Regions from separate parts of the Homo sapiens genome. Here region 1 is linked to region 2. The links are contacts of gene promoters, found by promoter capture Hi-C in blood cells and fetal thymus (Javierre and others, 2016). All regions are on one chromosome and are shown on one strand. The core of a region is centred on a gene start or on the middle of the fragment in contact, and the rest is flanking DNA. Distances in the headings are between cores, read along the strand shown.

Region 1 (5,244 bases), core at 388-2,887, 1.5 Mb before region 2:
CCTTAGGAAAAAGATCAAAGTCCTTAACATAATCTTTAAGACCTGAGTGGTCTGGCCCCATCCAGCCTTTCCAGCCTTGTCCTGGGCCCCTCTGCTTGCTGCATAACTGAACATACCATGTCACGCTCTTCTCAGTAAGGTGCCTTTCCTCCATCTCTTGCCTCTCAGCCCCCCTCTGCTCATCCCTTTACCCCTACACCCACCATACCCATATATACCCCACCAGCAATCTCACCCTTAGGCATTTTTTCATGAGACCCACCCTGATCTCAGGGCGCAGTGGGACTCACTGAAGTAGGTTTAAACATCACTCTAACTGCTTTTTGAAAACAAGTGGTCTATTCTATTCAGCCCTGATAGTTTTTCAGCCTACAGAGGACCACAGAATAGTTCCTAAAGTCATTTAGGGGTTGTGCTGTTAATGCGTTTAACAGAAAACTGGTCCCAGGAGATGCTCCATGGAAAAAAGTGTTCTGTGGCCAAATAAATGTGGGACATGATACATCCCACGTGCAGATTCATAAAGGATGTCTGTGTGCTCAAGGTTCTCAGAGGTCTTAACAGTAAATTTATCTTTCAAATCTATTTGATCATAGAACCATTTTTTTCCTTAAAGAGAATCTATTGTTCCTGAGAACTAGTGTTCCACAGGAGAGGCTGATAAAATATTAACTGCTTCCATACAAGGAGTATGGTGCTTCTGCTCTTGAGGTTGAGCTACCTTGGAATCAAATACTCTTTCATTGTACCTGAGGTTTAGCAGAAGTTACACTTGGCCAGCTACTGAGTGTTCAAAAACTCTCTGCTTGACCGAGTGGAGTGAATCGGGCAAATCATTGCTATATAATTAGATACTCAATCCAATGTCATATTTACCATATTAAACTGGCTTTCTTAGGCCATCAGATAAAGTATAGGGTGTGGTATGTGGGGGACTCTGTCCTCTCTTGCTGAACCTAGGCTTCTGGCTGAAAATACGCTTCCTCCAGTCATCTGAACAGAGAGCCTCCCTGCTCTTCAAGCATTTCATTCCTTCTACACAGTTCTCTCCATAAGGCCCACTGTCCTGGCCTAGGTCCTGTCCACCCTTCAGTTACTGTCTTACTTTGGGACCACTCTTGTCACCGAAGCTTTGCAATTCTGCCCCCTTGGAATTATCTGGCTGAGGACCAGTGGATGGAAGGAAAGATACCCTGATGCAACATTAATTCTCTAGGATTTGCTTTATTTTTTTACCTGAAACCATAGACTGGACATAAGGTAACCGTACTTCAACAGGGAAGCCAAAGATTCTTCCAAGCCCATTGACATTGTCATTTGAACAGCTGGGACACAAGTGACCCATTCCTTTCTCACCAGAGCAGGAAATCCTTGTGCATTATTAAAGGTAGAATGATGTTACTATATCTTTCTCTCTGTCTTTTAACTCAACTATTTTTTGATATTTGTCTTTCAGTTCACAATAGAATATTACAATTTCTAGTTCAATTTTTATGGTAAAATACCATCAGTGCTTTAATTTCATTGACATTTTCATTGAATTTCTTTGATGCTCAGCATCTTTCATGTGGTTATTTGCTCTTCATATGTCTTTACTTGTGAATTATCTTTTCAAATAATCTGCCCATTTAAAAAATTTTGGTTGTTTGTCATACTATTGATTTCAAAGAATTCTTTACATATTCTGGATACAAGTTCTTTGTCAGGTATACATTTTGCTCATCCATGCATTTTTTTAATGGTATCTTTTGGGGAGTAAAGTTTTCAATTTTGGTAATTGGTCTAATTTATCAATTTTTTTTCTTTTATGGTTTGTGCTTTTCTGGTATTGTAAGAAATCTTTGTCTACTTCAAGATGGTGAAATTTTATCCGATGTTTTCTTCTAAAGTGTTTTTAAAATAGGTCTGCTTTTAAGTTTAGGTGTAGAGTCTGTTTTGAGTTAATTTTTGTTTACGGTGTGACTTAAGGATGGAAAATATTTTTCCCATGTAAACATCCAGTTAGTCCAGCATCTTATTGAAAATACAGTCTTTTCCCCATTGGATTTCATTGCTACATTTGTTAGAAAACAATTGATTATATATGGGTCTATTTTTCTCTGGCTAGTTTTTCAAAATTTTAGTTTGAGATTATTGAAGCTTTACCTGCAGTTGCAAGTAGTAATAGAGAGAGATCCAATGTAAGCTTCACCCAGTTTCCTCCAATGATAACATATTGTAAAACTACAGTACAATTTCATAACCAGGATACTGGTTACCCTTTTCCCTTGCGCCACAACTGTCTTTAATTCCTGGAAACCACTAGTGTATTTTGCATTTTTGTAATTTCAAGAATATTGCATAAATGGAATCATATAGTGTGTAGCCTTTTGAGATTGATTTTTTTTTCTACTCAGCGTGATTCTTTGGAGATGCATCCAGGTTATTTTGGGTCAATAATTTCTCCCTTTTTATTGCTGAGCAGTATTCCAAAGTATGGATGTCCCAGAGTTTGTTTAACCAGTCCCCTGTTGAAAGGAATCTGGATTGTTTTCAGTTTTCAGCTATTATAAAAAAGGTGGTGTAAACTGTCATATATAGGTTTATGTGTGAACATAAATTTTCATTTTTCCGGGACAATTGCCCAGAAATTCAATTGCTGGGTCATATGGTAGTTGCATGCTTAGTTTTATAAAAAGAGCCAAAATGTTTCCAGAGTGGCTTATGCATTTTATATTCCCCACCAACGATGTCTGAGTGATTCAGTTTCTCTACATCCTTGCCAGCATTTGGTGTTATCACTATTTTTTATTTGGGCCATTCTGATAGGGGTAAAATGATAGCTCATTGGGGTTTCAGTTTGAATTCCCCTAATGATAAATGATGTTTAGCATCTTTTCCTGTGCTTATTTGATATCTGCATATCCTGTGAAGAAATGTTTCTTTCTGTCTTTTGTCCATTTTCTAATCCTATCACATCACATCAAGGCTACATACTGTCAATGAGATTTATGATCATTGACGTTGATGTTGATCACTTAGCTGAGGTAGTGTTTGTCAAGTTTCTCTACTATAATGTTACTCCTTCTCTCCCTTTCCATACTTAACAATTTGGGAGGAAGTGACTTCCTTCCAAAGAAAGTGTTGTGTAGTCCACACTTATCAAGAAGGGAGTTATGCTCTTGCTCTTTAAGGGTAAAGTAGCTACATGAATTATTTGGAATTCTTCTGGATGAAAGATTTGTTTATTCTCCTCCATTTGTGTATTTATTTAATCATTTATTTATGGGTTCATGGATATTTATTTTATACTTTAGGTTATAATCCAATACTTTGGCCATTGGGAGTTCTTTCAGTTGGCTCCTATTACCTCTTTGCCACATCCCCATTAATGTGGTTAATTTTTTGTTTTGTGGCTAATTTTTTGTTTTGTTTTTTAAAACATATATACGTTCTGGCACTGCAAGATGCTTCAGCCTCATCTTGTGTATTTCCTGCTCCAGTTCTAGAGTCATTCATTTCTCTAAGGATCTCTGGTTTTTTTAATTGGAGAATAGTATTAAAAACAAGATTTGGGTGCTAAGCTGTGCTTGTTTTTACTGGGATATCATTGCTTTTAGGTCCTCTCAGCTGACAAAGTGAGGAAGTGCATGTGTATACTAACCCATGGACATGTGCTTATCCATAAATATTGCATGATGTAGTTATCTTTGTCTATATTAAGCTAAACATGAATTCACAGTGATGTCTCCAACTCTAGTTTGTTACAGCATGAATGGTTCTAGCCTTCTCCCCTTGCTTATTTGTAAACCCTTCACACCAACAACCAAATACTGCCTTTCATCATCCATCATTTATTTACTTAATTGTTCAATTTCAGTATCCAGGTATAGCAGTATCAGAATTGTTAACTTATACCCTTGTGGAAAACAACTTTATGAACTAGAGTATTGTGTTTATGTACCACTTATTTTGCATTTAGTCTTATCAATCCTACCCATTTCCAAAGTCACTTAGGTCAGCTCCCCCCCAGACCCCTTTGTGAGGTTGTTCCATACAGTTGTAATATAGTTAGAATCTTTTCTCACAGTTTGCATTCTTTCCTGAATCTTCTAACTAGAGGAGGCTCTTTTATTTACATTTGCTTATGTAAGTATAATTTTTCAAGCATCATTAGCTGAAAGGGCTATCTTTTCTTCATTGAATTGCTTTTGAACTTTCGTCAAAAATCAGCTGGCCATATTATGTGGGTCTATTTTGGGCTCTTCTTTTTCATTGATTATGTGTCTATTCCTCTACCTTTATTATGTCATAACAACTGTAGTTTCATAATAACTATTGAAATTGGGCAGAATAATTCCTACCACCTTATTTTTTTTCCAAAACTGTTATAACTATTCTAGATCCTTAGCCTTTTCATATAAATTTTACAATAATCTTGTCTATACCTACAAAAGATTTTGCTGAGGAATTACAATAAACCAGTATATCAATTTGGGGAAGAATCAATATCTTTACTATTTGGAGTTTTCCAATTCATGAACACAGTGTGACTCTCCACTTATTTAGATCTTTGATTTCTTTCATCAACATTTTTTCCCTGTACATGTATATCCAAGTATCCAAGTAGGTATGTATATATGCATGTGTGTGTGTGTGTGTGTATGGTGTATTTTTAGTGATTGTAAATAGAATTGTTCTTGCTAGTATATAGAAATATAATTGATTTTTGTATGTTTAAATTGTATCCTGTGACCTTGCTGAACTTACTAGTTTTAGGATTTTTTTTTTTTGTAGATTTCTTGGGATTTTCTACATAAATAATGATGCCATCTGAAAAGAGCGGCAGTTTTATTTCTTCCTTTCTGATAGGTATAAATTTTATTTTTTGTCTTGTCTCACTAGCCAGAACTTCTAACACTAGGTTCAGTAAGAGCAGACATCTTTGCTTTGTTTTCAACATTAGGGGAAAAGCATTCAGTCTTTCACCATTAATGATAATGTCAGCTGTAGTGTTTTTTTTTAGATGCTGTTTATCAAATTGAGGAAGTTCCTCTCTATTCCTAGTTTGCTGATAACTTTAACCATAAATTGGTATTGAATTTTGTCAATGGATTGATATGATCATGTGATTTTTTTCTTTGGCTTGTTAATATGCTTGGTTGATTTTCAAATATTGAATTAGTCTTGCATGCCTGGAATATACCACCTGGTCATAGTGTATAACTCATTTTATATAATACTTTGCTAAATTCTATTTCCTAA
Region 2 (5,102 bases), core at 2,424-4,923:
AGAGGGGCAAGGGTGGAAGGAAGCTTTCAAGCTAAAAAGAATGGTAGTGGTCAGGTAGTAGAAATTGTTGGATTCTGCATATATTTTGGAGGCAGGACTAGCAGGATTTGTTAGTGGATGTGGAGATGAGAGAGAGACAAGGAAGAGTCCAAAATGTTTGGCATGAGTAAGTGGAGAAATGGAGCTGCAATTTGCTGAGATGGGGAAGACCATGGGAGACCCCCACATGAGATGTACGGTGGACATTCAAATGAATGTGTCGGGTGGGCACTCAGGTACTCAGGACTATGCGGGATGGTTTGTTTTTTGTTTTTCTGTTTGTTTGTTTGTTTGTTTGTTTTGAGACAGAGTCTTGCTCTGGCACCCAGGCTGGAGTGCATTGGTGTGATCTTGGCTCACTGCAACCTCCACCTCCCAGATTCAAGCGATTCTCCTGCCTCAGCCTCCTGAGTAGCTGGGATTACAGACCCGCACCACCACACCTGGCTAATTGTTTTGTATTTTTAGTAGAGACGGGGTTTCACCATGTTGGGCAGGCTGGTCTCGAACTCCTGACCTCAGTTCAGGATAGTTTTTAAGCCTTGAGAATGGATGAGATTGCATAGTGTATGAGTGTAGATAGAAAGGAGAAATCCAAGGTTGGGGCTCTGGGGCACTCCAACATTAAATAATCAAAAAGAAGAAGAGGAACCAACAAGATAGACACAGAAGAAGTGACGTGAGACAGGAAGGAAAATAGAATATGTGTCCTGGAAGCCAAAGAAAAGCAGAGTGGTTGAATGCTGCTGTCAGGTCAAGGCAGGCAAGGACTGTGGCTTGGCCAGTAGATTAGCAATGTGAATGTCATTGGAGATCTTAAAGTGGGCAGTTTCAGTGGGGCAATCCGCGTGAAAACATGATAGGAAGGGAGGACAGCACTTGGGGAGAGTATTCTTCCAAAAATTTTCTCTACTCTGAAGAGAAAGAATCAAATAAGATAAGAAGCTGGAAGGGTCTAGTAGACCTGTGAAGTGGTGCTGTTGTCACCATGTACCCATGCTTTGATAGAATAAAACAAATTGCCCAAGTTTTTTTATTATTGTATATGGTGAGAAGCCGTTATTCTGAACCCAGAGCTCATATTCTTAACCTACACTCCACAACAAAGAGATGAAAGCAAGAGCTTCATTTATTGGTACATCTATGGGAACCAGCACAGGCCTATGGGCAAAAAGAGCCAAAAGAAAATTATGGAATACTTAAAGGAAACAGACTATTAGTCTTAATTTTAAATTTTCTATATACTATCTACCTATGCCTAATTTAAATTTCGTAGATACTCTCAGCCTGATGCAGTGGCTCACATCTGTAATCCCAGCACTTTGGGAGTCCAAGACAGGTGGATCACTTGAGGTGAGGAATTCAAGACCAGCCTGGCCAACATGGTGAAACCCCGTCTCTGCTAAAAATACAAAAATTAGCTGGGCTTGGTAGTGCACACCTGTGATTCCAGCTACCTGGGAGGCTAAGGGATGAGAATCATTTGAATCCAAGAGGTGGAGTTGGATTGCACCACTGCACTCCAACCTGGGTGACAGAGCAAGACTCTGTCTCAAAAATTAAATTAATTAATTAATTACATAAAATAAATTTATCTAGATACTGTCATATATATAGCTTTCTCATATTATTTTAACTGGAATTCTATGAAGGAGAAAATGCATGTCTTTTCTACAAATGTCAACTTCCCATTGGAGAAAGTAGCTGTCCAGGATCGGTCTTCCAGGGAGGCAGAAGCAGCATCCCTTAAGATTTTCAGTGTTTATTTTCAGTAATTTCCATACCTGACCTCTCATCAAACACATCCATTTATCCATACATTCATTCAACAAACATTCCTGATCTTCTGTGTCACCAAATCTCTTCTAGAAGCTGAGGGTGCTACAATGATCAAACCACACTAAGATCTTAGTTCTCACGAAGTTTACATTAAATGGGAAAGGGGCAGACATTTGAAACAAAACAAGTAGAGTTTTGGATGATGACAAATATAATTTTTAAGCACTTTATGGCATAGAGTAAAATCAGTGCAGGCTACTTTGAATAGGTAGGAAAGTCTCTTCAGGTGGTTGACATTGATTGAAACTGAATGAAGAAAAGGAAGCAGCTTTTCCTAGCTCTAGGGAAAGCTGGGTCCAAAAAACGAATGAGTGAAAGGCCCTCTCTTAAGTCTTAGAAGAACAAGCTAAAGAAGTCAGAAGTATAGTGAGGGTAGACAAGTGAAGTTTTAGAAGTCAGCAGCACAGAATGAGCCAAATCCCACAGGTTGCGGATCGTATTCTAAGCATGATAGGAAGCTATTGGAGATCTTGAATTCAGATCCCACTGGCTCCTAGTGGCAGATGGATTGTAGGAGATGAGGGTGAAAACCAGGAATCCAGTTGAAAAGCCACTGGAGTGGCTCAGCCAAAGGGAATGGTGGCTGGAATGGAGGGTTGGACTAGGTTGGCAGCTGGAAGGGATGTTAGACCAAGAAATCTGTGCTATGGAAAGAGGGATAATCTGATGGATTCACAGAATATTTTGGACTTAGAGCTGGCAGAATGATAACGGAATGCCGGGGGTTGGGGGGGTGGGGGAGGCAGTGAATGATCACAGGAGAGAAACAAAAAGTGACCACCTAGGTTTCTGGCAAAAAACAGGCTGGGTGATGATGCCTTCTACTGGCAGGGCACAGTTTGAGGAAGCAGCAGGATTGGGATGGGACTGGAAAAAAGAAATCATGAGATCTCTATGCGATACCTCATCGGCGATGTTGACCAAGCAGTTGGATGTGTTGCAGGGAAAAGTGAGATATTCAACCTGAAATTCAAGTCCCACCCCTCATAAAGCTATTCTTAACAAAACCGGTCCAAAGTATCTTACCCTCCTTTGAAATCTTTATGACACTTCCTATCCAAACTTCATTGGGCAAGTGTATTTGGTTATCTTCTGCCTTGTGGTATGTTTTGCAGATTTTTTTCTTTTTTTTCTTTTTTTTTTTTTTTTTGCAGATGTTTCTAATTCAGAAGACGAGTTCTGAATTAGAACCCAAGAATTGCACTCCTATTTCTGTCCCTAAGAAGCTGGGTGATCAATGGGTGTCACTTATTCTTTAAAGGTGACCATGTCCTCACCTAAAATTAGAGTTAGGCAAGGATTAGGTAATTAATGTATTGCTTATGTTACTAAGTAATAGTTAAGTAATTTATTTCATAATTACTTCACTCATTGAAATCAAGCACTATGAACTTCTTTAAAGGTCCATAGCAGAGAGCACAAAGCGTGTACGCAGTAGGCACTCAATAAATGCAGACAGACTGACATGCACAGTCAAGCTAAACTCTTTAAATTCCTAAAAGAGTAATTGTTAATGTTTTGAGGAAGAGTCCAGCATCTGAAGGAATGAGGGGCACAGGTTGGGAAGTGCCCGACTTCCTGCCCCACCTGGGGACCCCGCCGCCTTTCAGTGGCTGCGCCCTCCTCCGCCCCAAACCCTCCCAGTCTGGGAGCCCAGGGTCCCACGTGGGGATGACGGGGCCGGGCTGGTGCGTACCTGGCGGGTAATACCGGAGCAGGAGGCTCTTGAGCTTCATTTTCTTGCTCTCTTATCCCCGGCCGATGGGCTTCGTAGCCTTGGAAACGGCTAAACAGCAGCGGGACGCGGGTGCGCATGCGCAGGTTGCACCGCGCGGTCCTGGGGCGCAGAGCTGGGAGGTCTGGCTCCGCGGGCGGTTGGTGGCGACCCGGGGCTCCGGCGCGCGGGGGGCGAGTGTTCTGGAGGTGTCTAGAGTGAAAGAGGTGAGGGCACCTCGTGTCCTCACTAAGGGCGACCTCAGAGGAGCTAGGCATGGCCGGGAACCGACGGCCTAGGCCACAGCCTGGGCTGCATGCACTTTTTTAGCACACTGCGTTTCCCAAAAGGAAGGCTGGGAGGAAAAGCCCATCGCTAATTACTACTCTAGGGCCCCAGCCCGTGCCCTGTCCTTGTCCTCCCAAAAGAAAAATGACCTCAACTTAATATTTTGCATTTCCTGACTCTGTGCCCTACATTGCTTTAAACGGTGTATGCACACATACTCATACAATCCTAACAAGGTGTGAGTTATGCACCACTTCTTAAGGATGAAGTAACTCAGAATTAGAGAAAGTGGAGAACTACCAGAGGTCGCAGCCTAAATGGATAGGCGGGAATGGAAGGCAGGTGCGTCGGAACCTACACCAGAAAGCCTACACCTGTGCTCTCAACCTGGGCTTAAAACTCTCCAGGCCTTCATGCGGCTTGTCCAATTTCTTGCCAGCATCGTTGTTTGCCTGCCACGTTTCCATGAGAAAGCCTGCGGAGAGACAGAGTCAGCCAACCAGCTTGTCAATTTCCTTTAAGGAATTTGGCCTCAACTGGAATTTCTCAAACTTGAGTCATTCCTGTGTTATCTGCGCAACTATGAGCCATATCTCTCCTTACCTCTTCCAGAGATCCATACCTAAGTTTTAAGTTCTTAAAATGTCTCTAGATTGACTCACTTATTTTACTTCACTTAGTAAAATGTAATCTTAAAAATTACCTTTACTTTTACAGTTACTGGCTGTTTACTGAAAATTATATGAAATTTAATTCCATCTGTGAAGTTTTTATTTCTAAATTTAAAATTATATGAAATTTTCAGTAAACAGCCAGTAACTGTAAAAGTAAAGGCAATTTTTTAAAGGCGTTGAATTGCTTGTTAAAGGCTGAGCCATCGGGAACTTGTGCGTCCATCTCAGGGAGACCTGGCCTTCAGAGATGACAGCATTCAGCCCCAGGAGGAGCCTGCAATTCGTCCTCGGTCTTCCCAGCTTGTGCCCCCCATGGGGATACAGGACAGTAAGGAGCCAAACAGAACCTGCTGCCTGAATGGGGGAACCTGCATGCTGGGGTCCTTTTGTGCCTGCCTCCCCTCCTTCTATGGATGGAACTGTGAGCACGGTGTACGCAAAGAGAATTGTGGGTCTGTGCCCCATGACACCCGGCTGCCCAAGAAGTGTTCCATGTGTAAATGCTGGCACGGGCAGCTCCGCTGCTTTCCTCAGGCATTTCTACCTGG

What was found. The method cuts DNA at HindIII sites, captures the fragments that hold promoters and counts their contacts. A CHiCAGO score of 5 or more calls a contact.
Region 1: a contact is called between a fragment that was not itself captured here and the fragment with the promoter of DAW1 in region 2, in 1 of 17 cell types (M2 macrophages). The highest score is 6.2, in M2 macrophages.

The regions. Positions count from the first base shown.
Region 1 is chr2:229,398,703-229,403,946 of GRCh38, reverse strand. All of the region lies in intron 10 of DNER (delta/notch like EGF repeat containing), which reads left to right. Among named protein-coding and RNA genes, the nearest start is that of PID1, 130 kb to the right of the region's middle. The HindIII fragment of the contact is 1,009 bases long and covers 1,133-2,141 here.
Region 2 is chr2:227,870,202-227,875,303 of GRCh38, reverse strand. DAW1 (dynein assembly factor with WD repeats 1) reads right to left here and starts at 3,673. Exons shown (of 13, transcript NM_178821.3): 1 at 3,575-3,673. The coding sequence starts at 3,614. It also overlaps the pseudogene CRIPTOP2. The HindIII fragment of the contact is 8,065 bases long and covers 26-5,102 here.